Regions from separate parts of the Homo sapiens genome. Here region 2 is linked to region 1. Evidence: promoter capture Hi-C in human tissues and cell types (Jung and others, 2019). All regions are on one chromosome and are shown on one strand. The core of a region is centred on a gene start or on the middle of the fragment in contact, and the rest is flanking DNA. Distances in the headings are between cores, read along the strand shown. Region 1 holds the start of KLRC3 (killer cell lectin like receptor C3). Region 2 has its middle 36 kb from the start of GABARAPL1-AS1.

Region 1 (6,346 bases), core at 3,333-5,832:
GTACAGAACCTATAGAGAGATTATGTTTTCTCTACACATTCATAACTGTGATAAAGTTTAATTTAAAAATTAGGCACAATAAGAGATTGACAACAATAACTACTAATAAAAAATTGTAAGCAATATACCAACAGCACTACTATTGTGCTTTGAGGATATTCTTAAGTAAAATAAGGGTGACTTTTTAATGAAAACAAGCACTGCAATTCCCTGATAGTCCATCTCAAGCTTGTCTAACTTACGGCCCATGGGCCGCATGTGGCCCAGGAAGCTTTCAATGCGGCCCAACACAAATACATAAGCTTTCTTAAAACATTCTGAGATATTTTTGCAATTTTTTTGTTTAGCTCATCAGCTAGCGTTAGTGTTAGTGTCTTTTATGTGTGGCCCAAGACTCTTCTTCTTCCAATGTGGCCCACAGAAGCCAAAGATTAGACACCCCTGGTCCATCTCATAACCAAGAAAGTTACTAGCTGACCAATGAGTGGTGGACATATATGGACTACTATGGTCTATTGTAAAATATTTGTATCAACATTTCACTAACTTTCCACATCTTTCTTCATATCAATGATTCCACATAGATTTATTCATATTATTCTTCTGAATTTATCCTTTATATTTTTTTATATAGCACCCTATAAAACAACTTACTCATGTTTGAAAGCCAAACCATTTATTGTCACCCATGGATGATGACTGCTGTTACGAAACACACCAATCCATGAGGAAGGTAAAATGCTGGCCAGAAATTTCTAAAAGAAAAGAAATAATTTTCACTTAAATAATAATTATGAAAACATTACAAAAACAATATATTAAAGTTGAAAACCACTATTTGCAGTGCCAAAAACTTTCATAAATGTTTGAATTTTTTATTTAAATGAACTCTTCAACGTTTATACTTAGTACTTTCATTCTTATTCTCATGTTAATAAAGACATTTTAATTCTTGCAATGTAATAGTTACTCCAATTAACAGAATAAACACAGGAAGGGTTTTAATAAGTTTCCTGATACTGTGCATTCATTTCTCCAGATACTGTGACTAAATCAATCTATTTTTGTGCTATATTTCTCAGAGTTGGAGATTTAGAAGGGAATTGAGGGGTTGTCATTCAGAAATAAATGACATGGAAGCTACAGATTGGGTTTCCTTGGTACCACACCATTCTTTAACTAGATAAGCCCTCAATTTTTATCCGATTCGGTTTTTGTGGAATAACAGGGGTCCTGGCCAGGTGGTGTAGACTCGTCTCTCTCTGCTACTCCCTACTAAAAACAACTATAAACTCTGGGATTAATGAAAGACAAAAGTAATGGAGAACTCTGAAAGGTGGAAAGAGAAAGATGAAATTGTCTGGGACCCTAGCATCAGGGATCAACCAAGTGTCCGAGTGAGCATGTTAAGTCCTCCACACGACAGAAGAAGGTGACCTAGGCCTGCTGTTTCCCTACACCCAACCTGGCAATAGGAGGAGGGTATCGAAGGAGAGTCCCCTCCACAATACCAGGCAAGGCTGGTGCCACTGGCAAGGATGATCTACCAGGAGACCTGCCACCAATACGGAGCTAGAGAAAGTGCTTCCTTCTCATACCAGGAGACACCAGGGTGGTTGTGGGTGAGGAGGATCAGGAAAGGGACCCACGACTACCAATGCACCATCCAGGGTCCTCTTTGCCCCTGAGGGCATGAGACTCACTTCCCCATCTAGAGACATAAGACAGAATGAATTCTTAGTGTTCTTTGTACATAGTACAGCAGTGAACAGTAACAAACTACAGATAACCGCAATAATATGGAGGAATTCCACAAATATCAGATAGGAGTGAAAAAGACAGACATGAAATTCACACTGTATAATTCCGTTTTTTATAAATTCAAGAACAGGCAAACCTTATTTATAACTTCAAAAGTCAAGACAGTGTTTTGGAGAGGAGTCAGGATAAGTGATGAGGGCATACACAGGGGTGGAACTGCTAGAGCTGGAAACTTATTTCATGATCTCACTTGTATCACATGAGATCATTCACTTTGTGATCAATCTGCATGACTAGATCATATCATGCTCAATAAAATTAAATAGTAAAATTTATTGTGGATTCAAAGCATTAATAGAAGCATGGTTTTCCATAAAAAGCAAAAACTGAAAATAAAAGTACATTAGCGGTATATAACTTTAAAAACATTATTAAGTCAATCAACTGAATAATGCATACACTTGAAAATATATAAGCTAAATATATGTACACACATATGGATGTTTTCTACAAATGTATTATTCACTGAAAGAAGCTTTTCATAAAATGTTTGAAACATTTACATCTTACCATTTCTTCTTCATTATCTATACAAAGCAGACTAGAAGAGTTCTTTGAAGCACAGGCCTGCAAACTCTCTTCCCAAGTTCTTCTTTCCTTACCAATGTAATAACAACTGTTGGAATATGTAATCCACTCCTCAGGACAATGGCCACAATGACGTGCTAATAAAGATATGAATTACTATCTAGACCAATATGAATTTTTAAAAATGAAAATTAGTTCACATATTTGCAACAGTATAAACATATATGTGCTTAACATATTTATGCATCCTTACAGGCTTATAAGTATATATTTTTTAATAACTGAGTCAGTCATACACACATACACAGAAAAGGGTTAGCCTCTCTCCCCTAATTGTGTTCCCATATAAAGCAAACCAACAAACAAAAATACACTCCACACATGTCTTGAACCTCACTGATACACAACTGCTTTTTTAGAATAGTAAAATTATTTATTTGGTATCATCTCACAGCAGTAGGAGACTTCTGTTAATTGGGAGAAAGAGGGTAGAATGATTTTAAGTGAGTATTTCTACTTACTGGAGAAAAGGAAATGCTGCCTCATAATCTTTCTTTATAAATATTTATGGCTGAATTTATGGCTTATTTTCTGCAAAAATGCCACTATTCTTTTACATGCCTTAAAACAGACACAAAATATAAATTGTACTAATATCAGAGCATTGAAAATAAAAATGTACCTTTCTGGGTTCTTGCATTCGGGGAAGAATTGTTCTGCTCCAGGACTGTAATAGAAAAATTAAAATGATTTTTATAAAAACTGATATCTAGATAAACCATAATGAGTTTAGTTTCTTACTTTGAAACTTTGTGTGTTATTTAAAATGGGGAGAATCTTTAATAAAATTAACTTTTTCTATAAAAATATATAAAGTAATAGACCTTTGAAATAAACATTTTTAAAGACTTTAGCACAAAACTTCACCATCTCTTGTAGTATTTGATGTAACCACTTTCAAAAATTAGTTTTTCTAAATACTTTTCTTCTATAGCATGCCTTTGAATTATGAAATCAGAAAATATCTTTGTGTGTGTATGTATATACATATATATAGATTACACACAAAAAATAAACACATGTTCTCTACAATGATTTTGTTATTTATGTTGTGAAAAATTCAGAATAACCATATTATTTTGGTTCCAAATTGTACTAATATCAGAACTTTGAAAATAAAAATGTACTTTTCTGGGTTCTTGTATTTGGGGAAGAATTGTTCTGCTCCAGGACTGTAATAGAAAAATTAAAATGATTTTTATAAAAAGTAATATTTAGATAAACCATAATGAGTTTAGTTTCTTACTTTGAAACTTTGTGTGTTATTTAAAATGGGGACAATCTTTAATAAAATTAACTTTTTCTATAAAAATAAATGAAGTAATAGATCTTTGAAAGAAACAGTAAAATAAGAGTTCTATTCTTCAACAGTATGAAATATTTTGAGGCACTTCCAAGCATTAAAGTAAAACGTTCCCTTCTAATCTTTCAAGAATATGCTTACAAGGAATAAGAACTATTGTTTTTAACACAGTGGCCATCAGGACAATGCAAATGATTCCTAGGACCTCGGCAGTGAGCTTTTCTGGAGGTGGCAGTAAACCTGCAGGGAGAGAAATAGAGGCACTGAGAGAGGGGAGATAGAGAGTTGATTAGGATTACATACTAGAGAATTACATACTAGAGAACCCACATGCACAGGGAAACATAATGATAAACTCTGGCCGCTAAATCTACATCTACTCTAGTAATCTTTCTCTCAGAATATACCATTTCATTTTCAGTAAATGTAATGTTCCATGAGTGGATTGCAGATTACAGTTGATTACAGTTGAACAATGCCTGAATAAAATTAGTCTTCTGATTTCATATTAGAATATTAGATCCCATTTATGAACTCTGATTCTCACAAGTGTAAAATATTCCCTAATCTTTCCTCACCCTTCTGCATTCAACTGCACATCCCAGAACAATAACATTGAAGATATATTTAATGTTTTACCTTGGCAGTCATATATTTTATCAATCCCTTGATGATTCAGAGAAGCATTTTGAAGGTTTAATTCTACTTGGAATATTTCCTGTTCGGTTCCTGAAATGGAGCTTTTATTGCCTTTAGGTTTCCTTTGCTGCCACTTTGGGTCCTGGGCCAGACTCACTTCTGAGAAGGTTCCTCTTTGTTTACTCATCTCTGCAGCTGTGTGATGTGAGGGACTGTGCTCTATGATAACTGCACTTAAGAAGCTATAAATGGTGTATATTTTGACAGGATCCCTGGTATAGGCAATGTGCATGTGTTGGGGCTGAGTAATAATGTTTACTTTGCTGTTAACCTAGGTAAAATTCTGCTACTAATTTCCTAAAGCTTTAAACAAAAATCACACGATATAATTGGCCATTTTTTAGATGTATTCTGTATTTGACATAATATTACTAGTGGGAACAATAAAAACATTAAACTTGTGAGAACTAGGAAGTTCATGAAAAAAATTGGTATTAAATTAAGGTTAGATTCTTCAAAAATGTTTAACACCAATAGACTGCATACTTTAACAATTAAAATACTGTATTTAGAAATACACTAATTTTACCATAGTTTTAAGAGTCATTGATGGTTAATGATTGTGTGCCATAAGATAAAATAGTTCTGTCAGCATACAGAGTAACTTCTTATACTAACATACATTGTTAGTGAGTTACATTCATTTATTAAAAGGACCTGAGGTATTGTCAACTGATTATTTTTCTAAATTAGGAAATCAGAAAAATCATTAAAATTTTAAAAATATATCTTGTAAAACATTACATTACTGTATGCATAAATACTATTGAAAACATAATATATTTTTAAATTGCTGCTTTTACACAAGAAATTGGTAATTGATTTAATGACTAAAATAGGAAAACTTAAAATGATAAATAAACGTGTGGGCCGTCTATGGAAGAATAGTGTCCAATCAAACTTTCAGAAAGCTCCTATGATTGTATAAGTCAGTGAGGGTCGCTTTGGTTGTATAAGTAATTGTAATAGTTCAGATAATGTAATTTAATAATCTAGTCAATGAGCTCTGTAGTCAGTGAGACTACAATTAATTCTAGCTTTGCAAGTTGTAATATGTGACCTGTACTAAATTACTTAGTGTCTACTAACCTAGTTTACTAATCTACATTGGGAAAAATAATTTATAAAGTATAATGTATGTAGAAAACTAAACACACAACCTGGCACATATTAGCACTGAATACATAATAGATATTTCAACTATTTTTAACACAATTGCCATTTTATTATTTCTGATTTGCATTAGAGTGTGTTAAAATAACTCATTAATTAGGCGTCTCATGTCAGTGTGGTACATCTTTTTTGCAATGTTTGGTTCAATTGTTTTAAGTCTTCCAATTGTTTATAATTAAGGTCAGATTTGCATTTTATGGAAATGATTTCATCCTTACTTTTATTAAAAATTAAAACTGCTTTCATGAAATCTAGGTGTGTGATTGAGAATTAATGTTTGACATTCACAATTTGATGTATCCATATTAAAAATTTATTTTTAAAGTTTGGTCTAAATATAATATACAATTAAACCAGTAATGATTACAAAATCCAAAATTAATTGTTCATTGTCATGATGGTTATGGGTTTCACTCTAAATTACATGGATTGGCAAACCTATTATTATGTATGCATCTACTTGAGTGATTCTCCAGCGGCAATGATGTGAATACTCTAAGAAATCCTTAAACATAGTTTATATTTTGGCTCGTTTTTCACCTTGAATTATTCACGTGAATAAAGTTCTACCTTGATTTTCGTCTATATCAACTTTACCTCAGGTGCATCACAGCCAGTACTTACAATCTTCTACTAAATGAGATGAGCTAGTAGAGAAACAGGGAGAGGAGCAACACTTACCTACTGTCATCAGAAAGCCACACGCCCTTCAGTGGAGAGGTCAGGTTACCTCTGAAAGACACAAACGTTATCTGTGATCTT
Region 2 (7,102 bases), core at 2,416-4,915, 170 kb before region 1:
ACAAATTACCCAGTCTCGAGTATGTCCCTATAGCAGCATGAGTACGGACTAATACATATTGTTTTTTACATTTTAATGTCTCTGAAATTAGCATGCCTCTCAAAATATATGAAGTCTTACAGTCACTGCTGGCCAGGAGACAGTTGCAATGTGCACATGCGTGACCTTGATTTTCACTGGTGCTAGTGTCACTGCTTCAGTGAAGTTATGTACATTGTTGGTCCTGCATGTTTTACTCATCACATCATTTAGACACCGTCATAGGATGGAATGGAAATTCTCTGATCCTGTTTTTTTCCCCACAATTTTTCTAATCCTGTTTTAAAAAAAAATCTATGAGACTTTTACAGATCAAGAAATCACCATCAAAAAACTCTAAATAATGAGCATCAGAAGCTACAAAGAAAATCTTGGAGACATTAGAGGGGCACTCTTTTTAAAAAAATGGTACATGACTATTGTTCTTTATGGCACAGAAAACAATATTGTGTTGAAAACAATTATGGTAATGATAAGTATGTTTTGTCTGCTTTATTGACACTAATAAACTTCTTAATATTTTATTTTTATGTTTATTTTATTGTGTGAAATCAGTTTTATTTAAATGTATTTTCTTTTCCTTCCTTCCTTCCTTCCTTCCTTCCTTCCTTCCTTCCTTCCTTCCTTCCTTCCCTTCTTTTCTTCTTTTCTTTCTTTTTTTTTTTTCAGAGTCTCTCTCTGTTGCCCAGGCTGGAGTGCAATGGCGTGATCTCGGCTCACTGCAACCTCCGCCTCCTGGGTTCAAGTGATTCTCCTGCCTCAGCCTCCCAAGTAGCTGGGATTACAGGTGCCCGCCACCACACCCGGCTACTTTTTGTATTTTTAGTAGAGATGGGGTTTCACCATGTTGTCTAGGCTGGTCTTGAACTCCTGACCTCAGGTGATCCACCCACCTCGGCCTCCCAATGTGTTGGGATTACAGGCGTGAGCCACCATGCCTGGCCATAAGTATACTTTCCGCTTGATGATTGCACTTTTTGTTTTCTTTGAATCATATGCTTAGATAGAACATCATTACCATTCTGTTACAATGGAGATTTTAACATGTTCACACTTGAAAATATCAATTTTGAATTCCATTTGCATCTATAATTATATCAGGTTTAAACTCACATACAATAAACTATATACGACGGATAATGTGTCCTCTATTATTCTACCCATAAACAAAGTAAATGTATTTCCAAACATGGAGTCATTGGCATCAGCCAACCGGTGGGGGAGATTCTAAATTAGGCTTAACAGGGGACAGGGGAGTTGCTAACATCCCTTACAGTAAACTACTGAGGCAGTCCTTGATTCTGCCACATTATGAGGATTTTATACATAAGGTATTTCATGAAAGAAAGAGAAATAGTAAAACTGCACCAAAGGAGAAACAGTATTGAATTGCAAACAAAGAAGACAGAAGAAACAATAACAACAGTTAACAATGCTTTCTCATTCAATCCCTAGAAAAACCTTGTGATGAGGATACTTTTATCCCCTTCATTTTACAGATGTGGAAAAAGTAGATTAGGGAATTCAACTGGACCAAAGTTATAAATATAGTAAGTGACACAACTCAAACTAATATCTTGCCTTCTCTGGTATCAAACTTGTGCCCTTATCATATATCAAAATGCTTCCAAGAAAATTAAATATACGGTTTGCAACCAGTGGAGAAACTCTTGGGGAAATCGTCAATTTTTTAAAAAAGAATTTATTGAGAAGCATCCTTGAAACAACTTGAAAAAAGAGTAAGAAATTATTTCATACTTAATTTTCTACAAAGAACAAAATAATGAATCTCACATTTATCACACATATGCAGTGAGAAGGACTCCTGGAGGCTGTAGCAGTCAGTGCCTTTCACACAGGAAGGGACCCTTACTCTGAGCTCTGCTAAGCAGAAGGGTGGTAGTGTCCCATGGTGGCTCGTAATGCATTTCTTGACCCAATGACTTCCTTTGTGGTTTCATCAGAGTTCGCAGGAGCTGCCATCACTCTAGCTTTATGGTTTTCAACTCTAACAAAGTGAGGAGTATAGTAGTCCTTTTGTTTTCTCGAAGACCATTAGGATCACTTGTTGTACATACGTTGTCCGTCATGCTCAGATTTCCTAGGAATTCAACTTCTGTCCTGAGTCTCTGCCTTTATTTCTATCCTGGTGCGTTAGGCTGTCAACCTAGAAGGAAACATTTACATCCCCTCAACCACTCTCTCTCTTAAGTCCTTACCATTTCCCAAGGTGGTGATAACGTTTTGCTTTTTTTTTTTTTTTTTTTTTTTTTTAGGGGGGCTGTTATGAGTGCTGGAAACCAAGAAAGGATGAGCAAAGAAAAAAGTTCCCCTGAGTCATTTGGCCCCAAACATTTTAGCATACCCAAAGGCGCCAGAGCCCTTTCAGTAACATGTATTATTCCTGTTAAAGATCCTTCCCCTTGGTTTGGGTTCTGTAGCTAGACAAAGAGAAGGTTAAGAACATCTGCTTCTGTGTCACATTGTTCCAAACTTTTCTTTTCTTTTCTTTTCTTTTTTTGAGACGGGGTCTCACTCTGTTGCCCAGGCTGGAGTGCAGTGGCAAAATCTCCCGCTCACTGCAACCTCTGCCTCCTGGGTTCAACTGATTCTCCTACCTCAGCCTCCAGAGCAGCTGGGACTACAGGCTCCCGCCACCATGCCAGGCTAATTTTTGTATTTGTCCCAAAGTTTTCTGCTTGACCTAGATAAAACTTGGGTATTAATTTATCAGTTACCTTTTAAACACATTTTAAAATTTACATTTGCAACACCCCTTTGATTATTAACTTCCATTATATGTTGAGGCAAGTCAGTACGAAGTGGTTTCAAAGTCACATAATACTTTAAAAATGGATAGCGTATTAAGGTAATATAAAGGGTCTTGGGTCTGTGAAGCTAGAGAAGATCCAGACCAGGAGAAAGTCTCAGGTATTTAAGAGCATGTTTTCTGGTTAAGGAAAGGATAATTGAAAGCAGCCGCAAGTGCCATGTTTCGTTCATTTACCATCATTATCAACGACTTATTTAATGTAGTCATAATTTTGTAATCGGGATTTCTGAAGTTCCATAAACTGGAGCTAACATATGTTGCCTCACTAGCATTAACTACAGATGTTAACATACTAACCTTTCACTCTGGAGTTTGGGACAGTGAGTGATTATTTGTTATTATACTATTTTCTTTTTGAGATGGGGTCTCACTCTGTTGCCCAGGCTGGAGTGCAGTGGTGCGATCCTGGCTTACTGCAACCTCCGCCTCCCAGGTTCAAGCAATTCTCCTGCCTTGGCCTCCCGAGTAGCTGCGATTACAGGCAAGCACCACCAAGCCGGGCTAGTTTTTGTATTTTTAGTAGAGATAGGGCTTCACCATGTTGTCCAGGCTGGTCTCAAACTCCTGACCTCAGGTAATCCTCCGGTCTTAGCCTCCTAAAGTGCTGGGATTACAGGTATGAGCCACCATGCCCAGCCCTTTTATGCTATTTCTTTGGCAAACACAAAAAGGAATGGTCTGGTCCAGTGGTCCCCAAACTTTTTGGCCCCAGGGACCGGTTTCATGAAAGATAATTTTTCTATGGATGGGAGCAAGAGGGGGATGGTTTGGGATGGTTCAAGTGCGTTACATTTATTGTGCACTTTATTTCTATTATTATTACATTGTAATATATAATGAAATAATTCTACAACTCACCGTAATGTAGAATCAGTGGGAGCCCTGAGCTTATTTTTGTGCAACTAGATAGTCCCATCTGGGGGTGACGGGAGACAGTGACAGATCATCAGGTATTGGATTCTCATAAGAAGCACACAACCTAGATCCCTCGCATGTGCAGTTCACAACAGGGTTTGTGCTCCTATGAGAATCAAATGCCTCTGCGGACCTGACAGGAAGCAGAGCTCTGGTGGTAATGCCAGCAATGGGGAGTGGTTGTAAATATAGGTGAAGCTTTGCTCACTCATTCCCTGTTCACCTCCTGCTGTGCTCCAGGTTCCTAACAGGCCACAGTACCGGTCTGTGGCCTGGGGCTTGGGGACCTCTGGTCTGGTCAATTACACATTTCTCCTGAATTCTGGAGAGACAACATACCAGTTCCTCAGAGGAAACAAAGATTTTCTTAAAAATCACATCAAATTAAATTACTGCTTTTTGCTTATTGAAGTGGATAATCTTACTCTTGTTTTTGTCATTGAAAAGACACTAGGCCAGGTATGGTGGTTTACACCTATAATCCCAGCACTTTGGGAGGCTGATGTAGGTGAATCCCTTGAACTCAGGATTTTGAGACCAGCTTCAGCAACATATTTATGTTCTATAAATGTATGTTCTATAAATAATACAAAAATTAGCTGTGTGTGGTGATGTGCAGGTGTATTACGTATTTTCTATAAATAATACAAAACTTAGCTGGGCGTGGCGATGTGCACCTGTAGTCCCAGCTGCTTGGGAAGCTGAGGTGGAAGAATCACTCAAGCCTTGGAGGTTGAGGCTGCAGTGAGCTGTGATTGCGCTACTGTACTCCAGCCTGAGCAACAAAATGAGAACTTGTCTCCAAAAAACAAACAAACAAACAAACCCCACCACATTCTCAAGTTATAAGAAGTTAGTTCTTCTTCCCTCATGTTACTTAAGATTTGAATTCATGATTGTATAGAATCATTAGTTGTCTTAAACAAGCAAGGGCACTAAATGAATGACCATTACAGGGAAGACAGTAGATTCCATGAGAGGATGTGTCTTGAGAATGTATATGAACATGAAGACTTCATCTTTGAGAAAGAGGAATAACTTTCAGAGGAAGGTGATTCAAGTGAACCAAGACATGACACTGAAGAAGAATGGTGGGGGTGGTAGGGAGTAAAACTATCGCAGCTGTGTGTACACAAAAGGGAATGAACCAGGGTTGGGAGTGCAGTGGTGTGAGTTGTGACTTGGGCCTAGAATGCTTGATTGAACATAGCATTACTGGCTTTGCTGTCCTGAGTGAGTCAGTGGGCAGTTGTAAAAAAAAAAAAAAAAAAGATGAATAATTTAACTTTTAATAAACAAAGTTTGACAATCCTCTGCATAAAACATTTCTTATCTAATGCTTTTAATATTTTTTTATCACTAGTTTTGAAGAACTTAATTATAATGTACATGTAAGTAGATTTTCTTATGTTTCTTTTGCTTGGGGTTCGTGGACTTTCTAGATCTATATGCTTATAGTTCTAGCAATTTGGAAACATTTCAATTTCAGTATTTAAATCTCAGTTTTCAACTGTAAGTTCTTTGAATACTTTTTGCCCCCTCCTATGTATCCAGAGACTGCTTTTAGGCGTACGTTGGGCCCCTTGCAGCTGTCCCGCAGGTCACTGATACTCCGTTCATACACTTTTTAAATGCTCTTTAATGTGTTTCATTTTGTTTAGTTTTCATTGCAATGTCTTCGGATTCGGGCATCTTTTCTTTCACAGTGTCTTTTTTTTCTAACTTTTATTTTAGGTTTGGGGCTACCTGTGAAGGTTTGTTACATGGGTAAACATGTGTCATGGGGGTTTGTTGTACAGATTATTTCATCACTCAGGCATTATACCCAGTACCCAATAGATACCTTTTCTGCTCCTCTCCCTTCTCTCACCCTATCCCCTTGAGTAGACCATGGTGTCTGTGATTTCCTTTTCTGTGTTCATAAGTTCTTATCATTTAGCTCCCACTTATAAATGAGATCATGAGGTGTTTAGTTTTGTTTCTTCATTAGTTTGCTAAGGATAGTAGCCCCCAGCTCCATCCATGTTCCTGTAAAAGGCAGGATTTCATTCTTTTTTCATGGCTGCACAGTATTCCATGGTGTATATGTACCACATTTTCTTTATTCAATCTGTGATTGATGGGCACTTAGGTTGAATTCAAGTCTTTGCTATTGCGACAAGTGCTGCAGTTATCATTCACATGCATGTGTCTTCGTGGTAGAAGGATTTATATTCTTCTGGGTATATACCCAGTAATGGGATTGTTGAATTGAATGGTAGTTCTGTCTAAAACTATAAAAACGCTGGAAAACAACCTAGGCAATACCATCTTGGACACAGACAGGAATGGGCAAAGATTTCGTGACAAAGACACCAAAAGCAATCGCAACAAAAGCAAAAATTGACAAGTGGGATCTAATGAAACTTAAGAGCTTCTGGACAGCAAAAGAAACTATCCACAGAGGGCAGGGCATGGTGGCTCACGCCTGTAATCCCAGCACTTTGGGAGGCCGAGACGGGTGGATCACGAGGTCAGGAGCTCGAGACCATTCTGGGTAACGTGGTGAAACCCCGTCTCTACTAAAAATACAAAAAATTAGCAGGGCGCGGTGGAGGGCGCCTGTAGTCCCAGCTACTCTGGAGGCTGAGGCAGGTGAATGGCGTGAACCCGGGAGGCGGAGCTTGCTTGCAGTGAGCCGAGATCGCGCCACTGCACTCCAGGCTGGGCGACAGAGCCACACTCCGTCTCAAAAAAAAAAAAAAAAAAAAACCTATCAACAGAGTAAACAGACAATGTACAGACTGGGAGAAAATATTTGCAAACTATGCACCTGACAAAGGACTAATGTATATCCAGCATCTCGAAGGAACTTAAACAAATCTACCAGAGAAAAACAAACAACCCCATTAAAAAGTAGGCAAAAGGCTGGGCGTGGTGGCTCACACCTGTAATCCCAGCACTTTGAGAGACTGAGGCTGGTGGATCACCTGAGGTTAGGAGTTTGAGACCAGCCTGGTCAACATGGTGAAACCCTGTCTCATGTAAAAATACAAGGAAAAATTAGCCAAGCGTGGTGGCGCCTGCCTGTAATCCCAGCTACTCTGGAGGCTGAGGCAGGAGAATCACTTGAACCCAGGAGGCGGAGATTGCAGTGAGCTGAGATTGCGCTACCGCACTCCAGCCTAGGCAACAGAGCGAGATCAGTCTCAAAAATAAATAAATTAAAAAAAAAAAAGAAAAGTAGGCAAAGGACATGAACAGGCACTTCTCAAAAGAAGACATACTTGTGGCCTACAAGCACATGAAAAAAGCTCAACATCGCTGATCATTAGA

Evidence for each region. Contacts are between HindIII fragments. The study calls those that stand out against the background at their distance.
Region 2: a fragment that was not itself captured here is called in contact with the fragment with the promoter of KLRC3 in region 1 in 1 of the 25 tissues and cell types used here (bladder).

Annotation. Positions count from the first base shown.
Region 1 is chr12:10,416,013-10,422,358 of GRCh38, forward strand. KLRC3 (killer cell lectin like receptor C3) reads right to left here and starts at 4,583. Exons shown (of 7, transcript NM_002261.3): 1 at 4,352-4,583; 2 at 3,854-3,952; 3 at 3,032-3,076; 4 at 2,332-2,486; 5 at 655-755. The coding sequence starts at 4,538. The HindIII fragment of the contact is 7,239 bases long and covers 1,300-6,346 here.
Region 2 is chr12:10,247,915-10,255,016 of GRCh38, forward strand. It overlaps a transcript of KLRD1 not described here. Among named protein-coding and RNA genes, the nearest start is that of GABARAPL1-AS1, 36 kb to the left of the region's middle. The HindIII fragment of the contact is 5,787 bases long and covers 773-6,559 here.